3 separate regions of the Homo sapiens genome follow, and regions 1 and 3 are each linked to region 2. The links are contacts of gene promoters, found by promoter capture Hi-C in blood cells and fetal thymus (Javierre and others, 2016). All regions are on one chromosome and are shown on one strand. Each heading gives the region's core, a stretch centred on a gene start or on the middle of the fragment in contact. The rest is flanking DNA. Distances are from core to core; before and after follow the strand shown.

What was found. The method cuts DNA at HindIII sites, captures the fragments that hold promoters and counts their contacts. A CHiCAGO score of 5 or more calls a contact.
Region 1: a contact is called between a fragment that was not itself captured here and the fragment with the promoter of APLNR in region 2, in 3 of 17 cell types (endothelial precursors, M0 macrophages and M2 macrophages). The highest score is 7.4, in endothelial precursors.
Region 3: a fragment that was not itself captured here is called in contact with the fragment with the promoter of APLNR in region 2 in 4 of 17 cell types (M0 macrophages, M2 macrophages, M1 macrophages and 1 more); the score reaches 8.6 in M0 macrophages.

Annotation. Positions count from the first base shown.
Region 1 is chr11:57,131,784-57,135,084 of GRCh38, reverse strand. All of the region lies in intron 6 of LOC105369309 (a long non-coding RNA gene), which reads left to right. Among named protein-coding and RNA genes, the nearest start is that of LRRC55, 49 kb to the left of the region's middle. The HindIII fragment of the contact is 1,163 bases long and covers 1,031-2,193 here.
Region 2 is chr11:57,236,000-57,239,797 of GRCh38, reverse strand. It overlaps APLNR (apelin receptor), which reads left to right and starts at 2,548. Exons shown (of 1, transcript NM_005161.6): 1 at 2,548-3,798. The coding sequence starts at 2,794. RefSeq lists an enhancer at 2,274-2,906. The HindIII fragment of the contact is 5,179 bases long and covers 1-3,798 here.
Region 3 is chr11:57,109,837-57,113,309 of GRCh38, reverse strand. All of the region lies in intron 6 of LOC105369309 (a long non-coding RNA gene), which reads left to right. Among named protein-coding and RNA genes, the nearest start is that of LRRC55, 70 kb to the left of the region's middle. The HindIII fragment of the contact is 569 bases long and covers 1,581-2,149 here.

The DNA of each region.
Region 1 (3,301 bases), core at 363-2,862, 100 kb after region 2:
AATAGAAGGATTGTGGTAACCCTGCATCAAGCGAGTCTATTGGTGGCATTTTCTCAACAGCATGTGTTTACTGTGTGTCTCTGTCAAATTTTGGTAATTCAATATTTCAAACTTTTTCGTTATTGTTTATCTGTTACGGTGATCTGTGATCAGTGATCATTGATGTTATTACTGTAATTGTTTTGGAGCACCACAAACCATGCCCGTATACAACACTAATCCATACAAGTCGTGAGTGTTTTGATTACACCACTGACTGGCCATTCAACATCTCTCTTCCTCTCCTTGGACCTCCCTAGTCCCTGAGACACAACAAAGTTGAAATGAGGCCAATTAGTAACCCTGCAAGGGCCTCTAAGTGTTCAAGTGAAAGGAAGAGTTGTACGTCTCTTACTCTATATCAAAGGTAGAAATGATTAAGCTTAGTGAGCAAGGCTCACTAATGTCTTTCATGAATGTCCAAAGCTTTCACTAATGTCAAAAGCTGAGATATGCTGAAAGCTAGGCCTGTCATACCAAACAGTTGGCCAAGTTGTGAATGCAAAAAAAAAAAAAAAAAAAAAGTCCTTGAAGGAAGTTAAAAGTGCTATTCCAGTGACCACACGAATCATAAGGAAGCAAAACAGCCTTATTACTGATGTGGAGGAAGTTTTTGTGGTCTGGATAGAAGATCAAACTAGCCACACAATACTACCTCAAGCCAAAGCCTAATCCAGAGCAAGTCTCTTCCATTCTGTGAAAGCTGAGAGAGGTGAGGAAACTGCAGAAGAAAAGTTTGAAGTTAGCAGAGATTTGTTCATAGGTTTAAGGAAAGAAGTTATCTCCGTAACATAAAAATACACTGTGAAGTAGCAAATGCTGATACAGAAGCTACAGCAAATTATTAAAAAATCTAGATAAGATAATTGATGAAGGTGGCTACACTAAATTTACAAATTTTCCATGTAGATCAAACAGCCTTTTAATGGAAGAGATGCTATTTAGGACTTTTATAGTTATAGAGGAGAAGTCAACGGCTGGCTACAAAGCTTCAAAGAACAGGTGGACTCTGCTGTTAGTGGCTACTGCAGCTGGTGATTTTAAGTTGAAGCCAGTGCTCATTTACTATTCTAAAAATCCTAAGGCCCTTAAGAAATATGCTAAACCAACTCTGCTTGTGCTGTACATAAATGAAACTGCAAAGCCTAGATGACAGCACATCTGTCTATAGCATGGTTTATTAGATATCTTAGTCATACTGTTGAGACCTATTGCTCAGAATAAAGACTCCTTTCAAAATATTACTGCTCACTGACAATACACCTAGACACTCAAGAGCTCTAATGGAAATGTACAGGGCAATTAATCTTGTTTTCAAGCCCAGTAACACAATGTTCACTGTGCAGTGCATGAATCCAGGGGTAATTTTGACTCTCAAGGCTTATTATTTAAGACATATATTATGTATGGCTATAGCAGCCATTCATAGTGATTCCCCTGGCGGGTCTGGGCAAAGTAAATTGAAAACCTTCTAAAAAGATTCATCCTTCCAGATGGCATTAAAAATATTCATATTCATGAGAGGAGATCAAAATATCAACATTAGCCGTAATTTGGAAGAAGCTGATTCCAACTGTCATAGTTTCCTTCGAGGGGTTCAAGATGTTAGTGGAGGAAACAACTGCAGATTTGGTGGAAATAGTAAGAGAACTAGAAGTGAAAGTGGAGCCTGAAGATGTGACTGAATTGCTGCAATCTTATGATAATATTTGAATGGATGAAGAGTTGCTTCTTTCAGAAGAATAAAAAAGTGAGTTTTTTTTTTTTTTTTTCTTTGAGACAGTGTCATGCTCTGTCATCCAGGCTGGAGTGCAGTGGTGTGATCTCAGCTCACTGCAACCTCTGCTTCCTGGGTTCAAGCAATTCTCCTGCCTCAGCCTCCTGAGTAGCTGGGACTACAGGCATGCACCACCACCAAGCCCGGCTAATTTTTGTATTTTCAGTAGAGATGGGGTTTCACATGTTGGCCAGGCTGGTCTCAAACTCCTGACCTCAGGTGATCTGCCCATCTTGGCCTCCCAGAGTATTAGGATTACAGGCACGAGCCATCTCGCCTGGCCAAAAAAGTGAGTTTTTGAGTTGGAATATACTCTTGGTGAAGATGCTGTGAACATTGTTGAAATGATCACAAAGGATTGAAATATTACATAAGCTTAGTTATTAAAGCAGTGGCAGATTTTTAGAGGATTGACTCCAATTTTGAAAGAAGTTTGACTGCGGGTAAAATGCTATCAAACAGCATCCCATACTACAGAGAAATCTTTGTGAAAACGAAAGTCAATTGATATAATTGATATGGGAAACTCCATTGTTGTCTTTTTTTTTTTGAGATGGAGTATTGCTCTGTCACCCAGGCTGGAGTACAGTGGTGTAATCTCGGCTCACTGCAACCTCCGCCTCCTGGGTTCAAGTGATTATCCTGTCTCAGCCTCCTGAGTAGCTGGGATTACAGGTGCGTGCCACCATGCCCAGCTAATTTTTGTATTTTTAGTAGACAGAGCGTTTCACTATGTTGGTCAGGCTGGTCTCGAGCTCCTGACCTCGTGATCCACCCACCTCAGCCTCCCAAAGTGCTGGGATTACAGGCCTGAGGCACTGTGCCCAGTCATTGTTGTCTTATTTTAAGAAATTGCCACAGCCACCCCAACCTTTAGCAACCACTATCCTGATCAGGAAGCAACTTTTAATTTCTTCTGAGAACTTTTTTTTTTCCTTTTCTTTTTTAGACATGGGGTCTCATTCTGTTGCCCAGGCTGGAGTGCAGTGGTGTGATTATAACTCATGGCAGCCTCAAACTCCTGGGCTCAAGAGATCCTCTTGCTTCAGCCTCCCAAGTTGCTAGGACTACAGGCATGGACCACCATGTCTGGCTAAGAACTTTTCTTTTGCATTCACAACTTGACTAACTGTCACAAATCTTTAATTCTTAAAAATGTGATATCTATGAGGTACAATAAAGCAAAGTGAAATAAAATGAGGTATGCCTGTATACTATGATTTAGTTAACCAGTTCCCAGTTGATCTATCCCTTTTTCTTAAAGTTCTCTAGATTGGAAAACTGAAGCTCCCTCGAGAATCAGGGACATCTCTGGCCATTCCTCAGACAGAATTTAACCTCTTATTTTGTACATGCATTGAGTAGTTATTGTGAACAGGGCTCACATCCTGAATACTCTATGGCAACACTGAGGTAGAGTTTCTGCCCATGTATACAAATCACTGACACATAAGGTAGATGGTAGCAAGTGGCCGAGAAAGACAG
Region 2 (3,798 bases), core at 1,299-3,798:
CTAAACTGCTTCACCTCTGTGTGCCTCAGTTTCCTCATCTGTAAATTGAGGCTAATGAGAGCACCTGCCTCCTAATGTCATTTTGATGATTAAAAGAGATACTAATAAATATATGTAGAATGTATAAAATGTTTAGAAGACTGCCTGGCACACAATAAGTGGGCAACATGTAGTCCTCATGAGAAACACCAACATATTCATTACTCCACATTGCATTTAGGTGAAGGTCACAGGATCTTTCTAATCTCTCTCTGCAGCCTTCTCTCCTGTATCTCCCCACTGCACTCTAAGGCTTTTTCTATCTTTGCATTTTTTGTTTCCTCCTCCTGCCCCATCCTCTTGGTTCTTCTCCTGCCTTCTATTCTTGGCAAGCTCCTGTTTAAAGAACACAAACTCGGGGGCCAAAGACATGTTTTACTTATCATGGTCTGTGCTTTTTTTTGAAATGAAAATTGATTTCCAAAATTTACAAATATGAAAATTTCTTACAAAAATCCATAATTTGAAATTATCTTGGAAAAATCCTAAGACACAGTCATGCTGGGGTCCAGCTTTCTGCGTGGCAACCAGAGACTAGAGCTGAAGAGGCCTCCCTATGATGGAATGGGCACCCTCCAGTTTGCCACAGTCTTTACCATTCTCTGTTGTCTCAAACTACACTCTTGGCCTGTTTTTTTTTTTTTTTTTTGCAGGTATTTGAGTTTGAGTTCCTTGATCTCTGCATATGATTTTCTGATCCACTCTCCCTCCAGAAAATGGATTCCAGCTTTTGTAGTAACTTAAGACAAATATATATCGTGAGACAGGGTCTTGGCTGTGTTATTCAGGCTAGTCTTGAACTCCTGGGCTCAAGCAGTCTTCCTGCCTTGGCCTCCCAAAGTGCTGGGATTATAGGCATGAGCCACCTTGCCTGGCCAATTCCAGCTTTTGTAAGTCTTTTGCCTTGGAAGTGGCTAAGGCTCAGCTCCTGCTTTTGTTCCATCTCACTATTACCCAACGTCAGGTGGCTTCCCCAACTCTTCAAGGTTGTGGAAAGGGTGCGTATTTTTTAAAAAAAATCTTACGTCGTGCATCTTCCTTCCTTCCTAGAGGTCCTGGAGAGGTGATGAGCTGGGGCAAAGTGAGCGTCTACGGAACTTTCCCCACAGTATCCTCCAGTGACTGAGTCTTTCTCTAGAGACCCCCCTCCTCTAGCTCAACTTCCTGACCCCCTGTGGTCTTACAGAAACCTCTTGGTCCATGGAGGATAGTAAAAACCTGAGAACTGAAATGTATCCATGTTCTCACCACGTAGTAATTCTTACACTTGTTCTTCCATCTATGGATTCCCCTTTTCACTCACCTCCTACATCATCCATCCACTTACTCACTCAACAGCCATTCACCTGGCTGGGCGTGGTGGCTCATGCCTGTAATTTCAGCACTTTGGGAGGCCGAGGTGGGTGGATCATCTGAGGTCAGGAGTTTGAGACTAGCCTGGTCAATCCCCATCTCTACTAAAAATACAAAAAAATTAGCCTGCAATCCCAGCTACTAGGGAGGCTGAGGCGGGAGAATCGCTTGAACCCAGGAGGCAGAAGTTGCAGTGAGCCTAGACCAGCCTGGGCAACAAGAGTGAAACTCTGTCTCAACAAACAAACAAACAAACAAAACAGCCATTCACCTACGACATGCCAGGTACTGTATTATGTTCGTGTTTGGAGAAGAAGAAAAGCAAACAATCAACTGTAGCATAATTCACTTTATTACCTTGGGCAAAACATTGACCTTGTTGGGCCTTTGTTTCCTACAGATTTAATGACTTGTTTAGAGATAATTTTGTCCTGGGTTTCTTCCATCCTGTGACTGCCCTCAACCTTCTAAAGCATCCTGTGCCTTCCGCAAACTGCAAACTGCAGTCTACACTAGTGTAGGGGTATTTCTCTAGAAACCACAAAAGTTCTCAGAGGGAGGGTCAAAGCCAAGGGGTAGAGAAAGATGAAGCGAGAGGCAAAGTGGGAGAAGACCCTCCTGTGACACCTGGTCTGGGTGGGGGCTGGGGGTGCAGGAAGGGAGCCGAGGGGGCCAGACCTGCCTGCCAGGAGGACCTGCCAGATGCCCTGCCCATCCTGCGAAATCTTACACCCTCCTTGCTCCCTACCAGCCCTGGCTCCAGCTCAAGCTGGATTGCAATCTGCATAATGTGTCCCATTTAGATTGGATGGAAGGGGGTGAGAACAGGAGGGCGGAGAGCACTGAGGAGGGAGTGCCCTAAAGGGCAGGCAGGAAGTGGTGGCCAGAGGAAAGTGGAGGGATAGGGGCTGGGGTGAAGGTGGGTGGCAGCCAGAAAGGAGAGGCGGGGCCAGGAAAGCCGACTTGCAAAACCACAGATAATGTTCAGCCCAGCACAGTAGGGGTCAATTTGGTCCACTTGCTCAGTGACAAAAAGAAAAAAAAAGTGGGCTGTCACTAAAGATTTTGACTCACAAGAGAGGGGCTGGTCTGGAGGTGGGAGGAGGGAGTGACGAGTCAAGGAGGAGACAGGGACGCAGGAGGGTGCAAGGAAGTGTCTTAACTGAGACGGGGGTAAGGCAAGAGAGGGTGGAGGAAATTCTGCAGGAGACAGGCTTCCTCCAGGGTCTGGAGAACCCAGAGGCAGCTCCTCCTGAGTGCTGGGAAGGACTCTGGGCATCTTCAGCCCTTCTTACTCTCTGAGGCTCAAGCCAGAAATTCAGGCTGCTTGCAGAGTGGGTGACAGAGCCACGGAGCTGGTGTCCCTGGGACCCTCTGCCCGTCTTCTCTCCACTCCCCAGCATGGAGGAAGGTGGTGATTTTGACAACTACTATGGGGCAGACAACCAGTCTGAGTGTGAGTACACAGACTGGAAATCCTCGGGGGCCCTCATCCCTGCCATCTACATGTTGGTCTTCCTCCTGGGCACCACGGGCAACGGTCTGGTGCTCTGGACCGTGTTTCGGAGCAGCCGGGAGAAGAGGCGCTCAGCTGATATCTTCATTGCTAGCCTGGCGGTGGCTGACCTGACCTTCGTGGTGACGCTGCCCCTGTGGGCTACCTACACGTACCGGGACTATGACTGGCCCTTTGGGACCTTCTTCTGCAAGCTCAGCAGCTACCTCATCTTCGTCAACATGTACGCCAGCGTCTTCTGCCTCACCGGCCTCAGCTTCGACCGCTACCTGGCCATCGTGAGGCCAGTGGCCAATGCTCGGCTGAGGCTGCGGGTCAGCGGGGCCGTGGCCACGGCAGTTCTTTGGGTGCTGGCCGCCCTCCTGGCCATGCCTGTCATGGTGTTACGCACCACCGGGGACTTGGAGAACACCACTAAGGTGCAGTGCTACATGGACTACTCCATGGTGGCCACTGTGAGCTCAGAGTGGGCCTGGGAGGTGGGCCTTGGGGTCTCGTCCACCACCGTGGGCTTTGTGGTGCCCTTCACCATCATGCTGACCTGTTACTTCTTCATCGCCCAAACCATCGCTGGCCACTTCCGCAAGGAACGCATCGAGGGCCTGCGGAAGCGGCGCCGGCTGCTCAGCATCATCGTGGTGCTGGTGGTGACCTTTGCCCTGTGCTGGATGCCCTACCACCTGGTGAAGACGCTGTACATGCTGGGCAGCCTGCTGCACTGGCCCTGTGACTTTGACCTCTTCCTCATGAACATCTTCCCCTACTGCACCTGCATCAGCTACGTCAACAGCTGCCTCAACCCCTTCCTCTATGCCTTTTTCGACCCCCGCTTCCGCCAGGCCTGCACCTCCATGCTCTGCTGTGGCCAGAGCAGGTGCGCAGGCACCTCC
Region 3 (3,473 bases), core at 616-3,115, 130 kb after region 2:
TTTTTGAAACAGAGTCCTGCTCTGTCACCCAGGCTGGAGTGTAGTGGCACAACCTTGGCTCACTGAACCTGTGCCTTACAGGTTCAAGCGATTCTCCTGCCTCAGCCTTCCAAGTAGCTGAGACTACAGGCATGCACCACCATGCCTGGCTGACTTTTGTATTTTTAATAGAGACAGGGTTTCACCATGTTGGCCAGGATGGTCTTGAACTCCTGACCTCAAGTGATCCACCCGTCTTGGCCTCCCAAAGTGCTGGGATTGCAGGCGTGAACCACAGAACCTGGCCACAAAATACAGTCGACTCTTGAACAATGTGAGGGTTAGGAATGCTGACCCCTGTTTAGGCAAAAATATGCTTATGAATTTAAACCCCTAAAAATGTAACTACTAATAGCCAACTGTTGACAGGAAGACTTACTGGTAACAAACAATTGATTAACACATATTTTGGATGTTATATGTATTATATACTGTATTCTTACAATAAAGTAAGCCAGAGAAAAGAAAATATTATTAGGAAAATCATAAGGCAGAGAAAATATATTTACTATTCATTGTGGAAGTGGATTATCATAGAGTTCTTCATCCTCATTGTCTTCATGTTGAGTAGGCTGAGGAGGAGGAAGAGAAAGGGTTGATCTTGCTGTTTCGGAGGAGGCAGAAGAGGTGGAGAAAGGGGAAGGGGAGGCAGGAGAGGCAGGCACATTAAGTATAAATTTTATTGGAAAAAGTCTGCTTACAAGTGGACTGGGGCAATTCAAACCTGTATTGTTCAAGGGTCAACTGTAATGCTTTATACCTTGCAAATAAAAAGCACAGCTAAATAATACCTATTATAAATTACATTTTAATAGAAAACCAAAACTGCCTGCATGAGGTCTTTTGGTCTAACGTAGCTTGACAACTGCACTATGTGTTGTCAATCAACTGAAGTGCTGAGATAGGACATCTGAAAAATTAATCAGTTTCCAAATGGGTTTCCCCCAAAATCCATTCTTAATAAACTTGTAGTGGTTACTGTAGAAAATGTTGCTTAGATGACATTTAAACATAAAGACAGTAACAGAAAGAAATGATCCCTCACGACTCTTTTAACTATAAAATTTGACCTTTTTAAGTTTCTGTAATTCTAGGTCAAAATAACACAAAAGTTATTTAAATAACACCAAATTTCAGTTGGCAGTTACAGGTAATTGAGTGAAAAAACTTGTAATCCAAATACATACTTCAGTTCTATTGCAGAACTATAGGGGTACAGAAACAGAACCAATCTTGCCCTGGTAATTGCTAGTGGGCATGGGGATAGGGACATCTCTCTGGCTGTTTTTGTGATTGAATGCACTCTCCTTTCTCAATTCTCCTTTTGGGTTGTTATCAGTGTAAAGAACATCGACTTCTCCCTCTGTCTATTTCTACAGGGAAATGAGCCTGCTCATTTCTTCCTCCATTAATGTCAGAGTCCTTGGCTCCACTCCAATCCCAGTGCTTGTTTTAAATTGGAGCAAAGTATGAGGCATGTCTTCCTACACAGTCTAAAAATTCCTGTTTAAAGGGATTATCTATATTCTGGAACATAAGCTTGCATAAAAGAGCAACTATCTCTATTTTTCTGACTATTTCCCTTCATCTGGGATCTGGGTCATCCGGATTAATTATAAATTGTCAAGAGGCACAGGTTGAGCTTGGTTGGAATAATTGTCCACATGATGTTACTGAAGAGACTTCAGGAAAACACTCTGCTCCAATATCACACTCAACGACTTTCTCTGAGGTTAGGTATGTCTCCAATGGTTTTTTTTCAGATGAGTAGTATATATTAGAATCAAATGAATGTATTCATCAAGCATTTATTGCCCATCCACTATGTTTTATGTAATATGATAAATGTAAGGAATGAATAATAACTATGGCAATAATTACTACTTATTGAGCATTTACTAAGGGATAGGTACTCTGCTAGGTGCTGTAGAGGCAGTATTTCATTTAATTCTTTCAAACTCCTTGAGAGGTAAGTATTATTGCCTTTATTCTGTAAAAGAAAATACTGAGTTTTAGCAAGGTTAGTTAGCTTGCCCAAAGTCAAGATCACCCAACTAGAGTGTTTCAGAGGTGGATTTGAACCCAGTTGGCTTACATCAAAGCCAAAGCTTTCAGCCAACATACTATCCTTGAGGAGACTATAGACTGATGTGAGAGGAAGGCAGGCAAACTAGCAATTATGTTGAGCAGGGCTTTAAAAAAACCCAGTGGGAAGTCAATAGAAGGGGACAAGAAAACTCCAGATTGAGGAAGTCCAGATGTGCAAAGAGTGAGAACATGGTGTGCACAAGAGAAGGTGGAAACTCTGTGTGGCTGGAGAAGGGAAGGTGGGAGAAGGTTGGAATGGAGATTGGAAAAATGCTCTAGAACAAAATTGTAAAAGATTTCAAATGCCATGTCAGGGAATCTGGATTTTATTTTATGGAATGATAGTGACAGCTTTGTATACCGACTCCCTCCATAACAATTTATAATTAACTACTGTCTTGAAATAAAATTTACAGATAGCATAACATACCTGCAAATGTACTTTTAAGAGATAATATATCATTCTAACTCTAAAGAAAAGTAAAAGTAAAAGGAAAATAACTTAAAAAATAAGTAACATTTAAATGCTAAGTGCAGCTGCTGTTGTAGTTAGATGTTTGCATCTGCATGTTATCACGAATGTATCAGCTACAAATGCAGATTGACATGATGATTTCCATGTGTTAAAGACTCAACTACAATGAGAGTGTTGCTTTTGGTTATGTGATTTCTCCAAATGGTAAAAGTTTCTGGTTAAATTTCCCAGCAAAACAAAGTCTGACCTTTCCTCCATTTATGTGGTAGTTGCAATTCAGGTAACCCATTGTATGTTCAAATTGTGCAAAAATACTTTGTTTTTTTGTAACACAGAGTTAGGTTCTATGTTCAGTTAATCATAAACAAGGTTTCCACTTACATGATATCCGATGGGATATTTGAAAATCATGGTTGATGTTGACTATTCTTGCCTGTGAGATACCATGCTGTGGCTTTAGTAATCTCTGCTCCCTAAATACTAGTAGTCTCCCACCAACTATTGGGACAACTAACAGTGTTCCTGCAAGTAAAAAAAAAGTCTCTAGAGATCTTTACCATTCAGTTAGGAGCAAAGTAAAGGAAATAAATTAAGAATAATTTAAAAAGCCCTCTCCTAAAGGAGGTCCAAATATAATGAGGAAGATTGACAAGAAAACAGTTATTAGGAAACTCCGCTAAGTGCTAACACACTATTGGGAGATAGAAGAGGGAGACCCAATTCTGCCTAGCGCCAGGAAAGGTCCCATAAAGGGAGTGATACCAAAGCTGATAAATGATAACTTGGACTCTGCTGAACATGGTAGAAGGAGGACCTTCCAGAAGGAGGTCACAGCATGTGCAAAGACATCAGGGGACGCCAGGAGAACCTG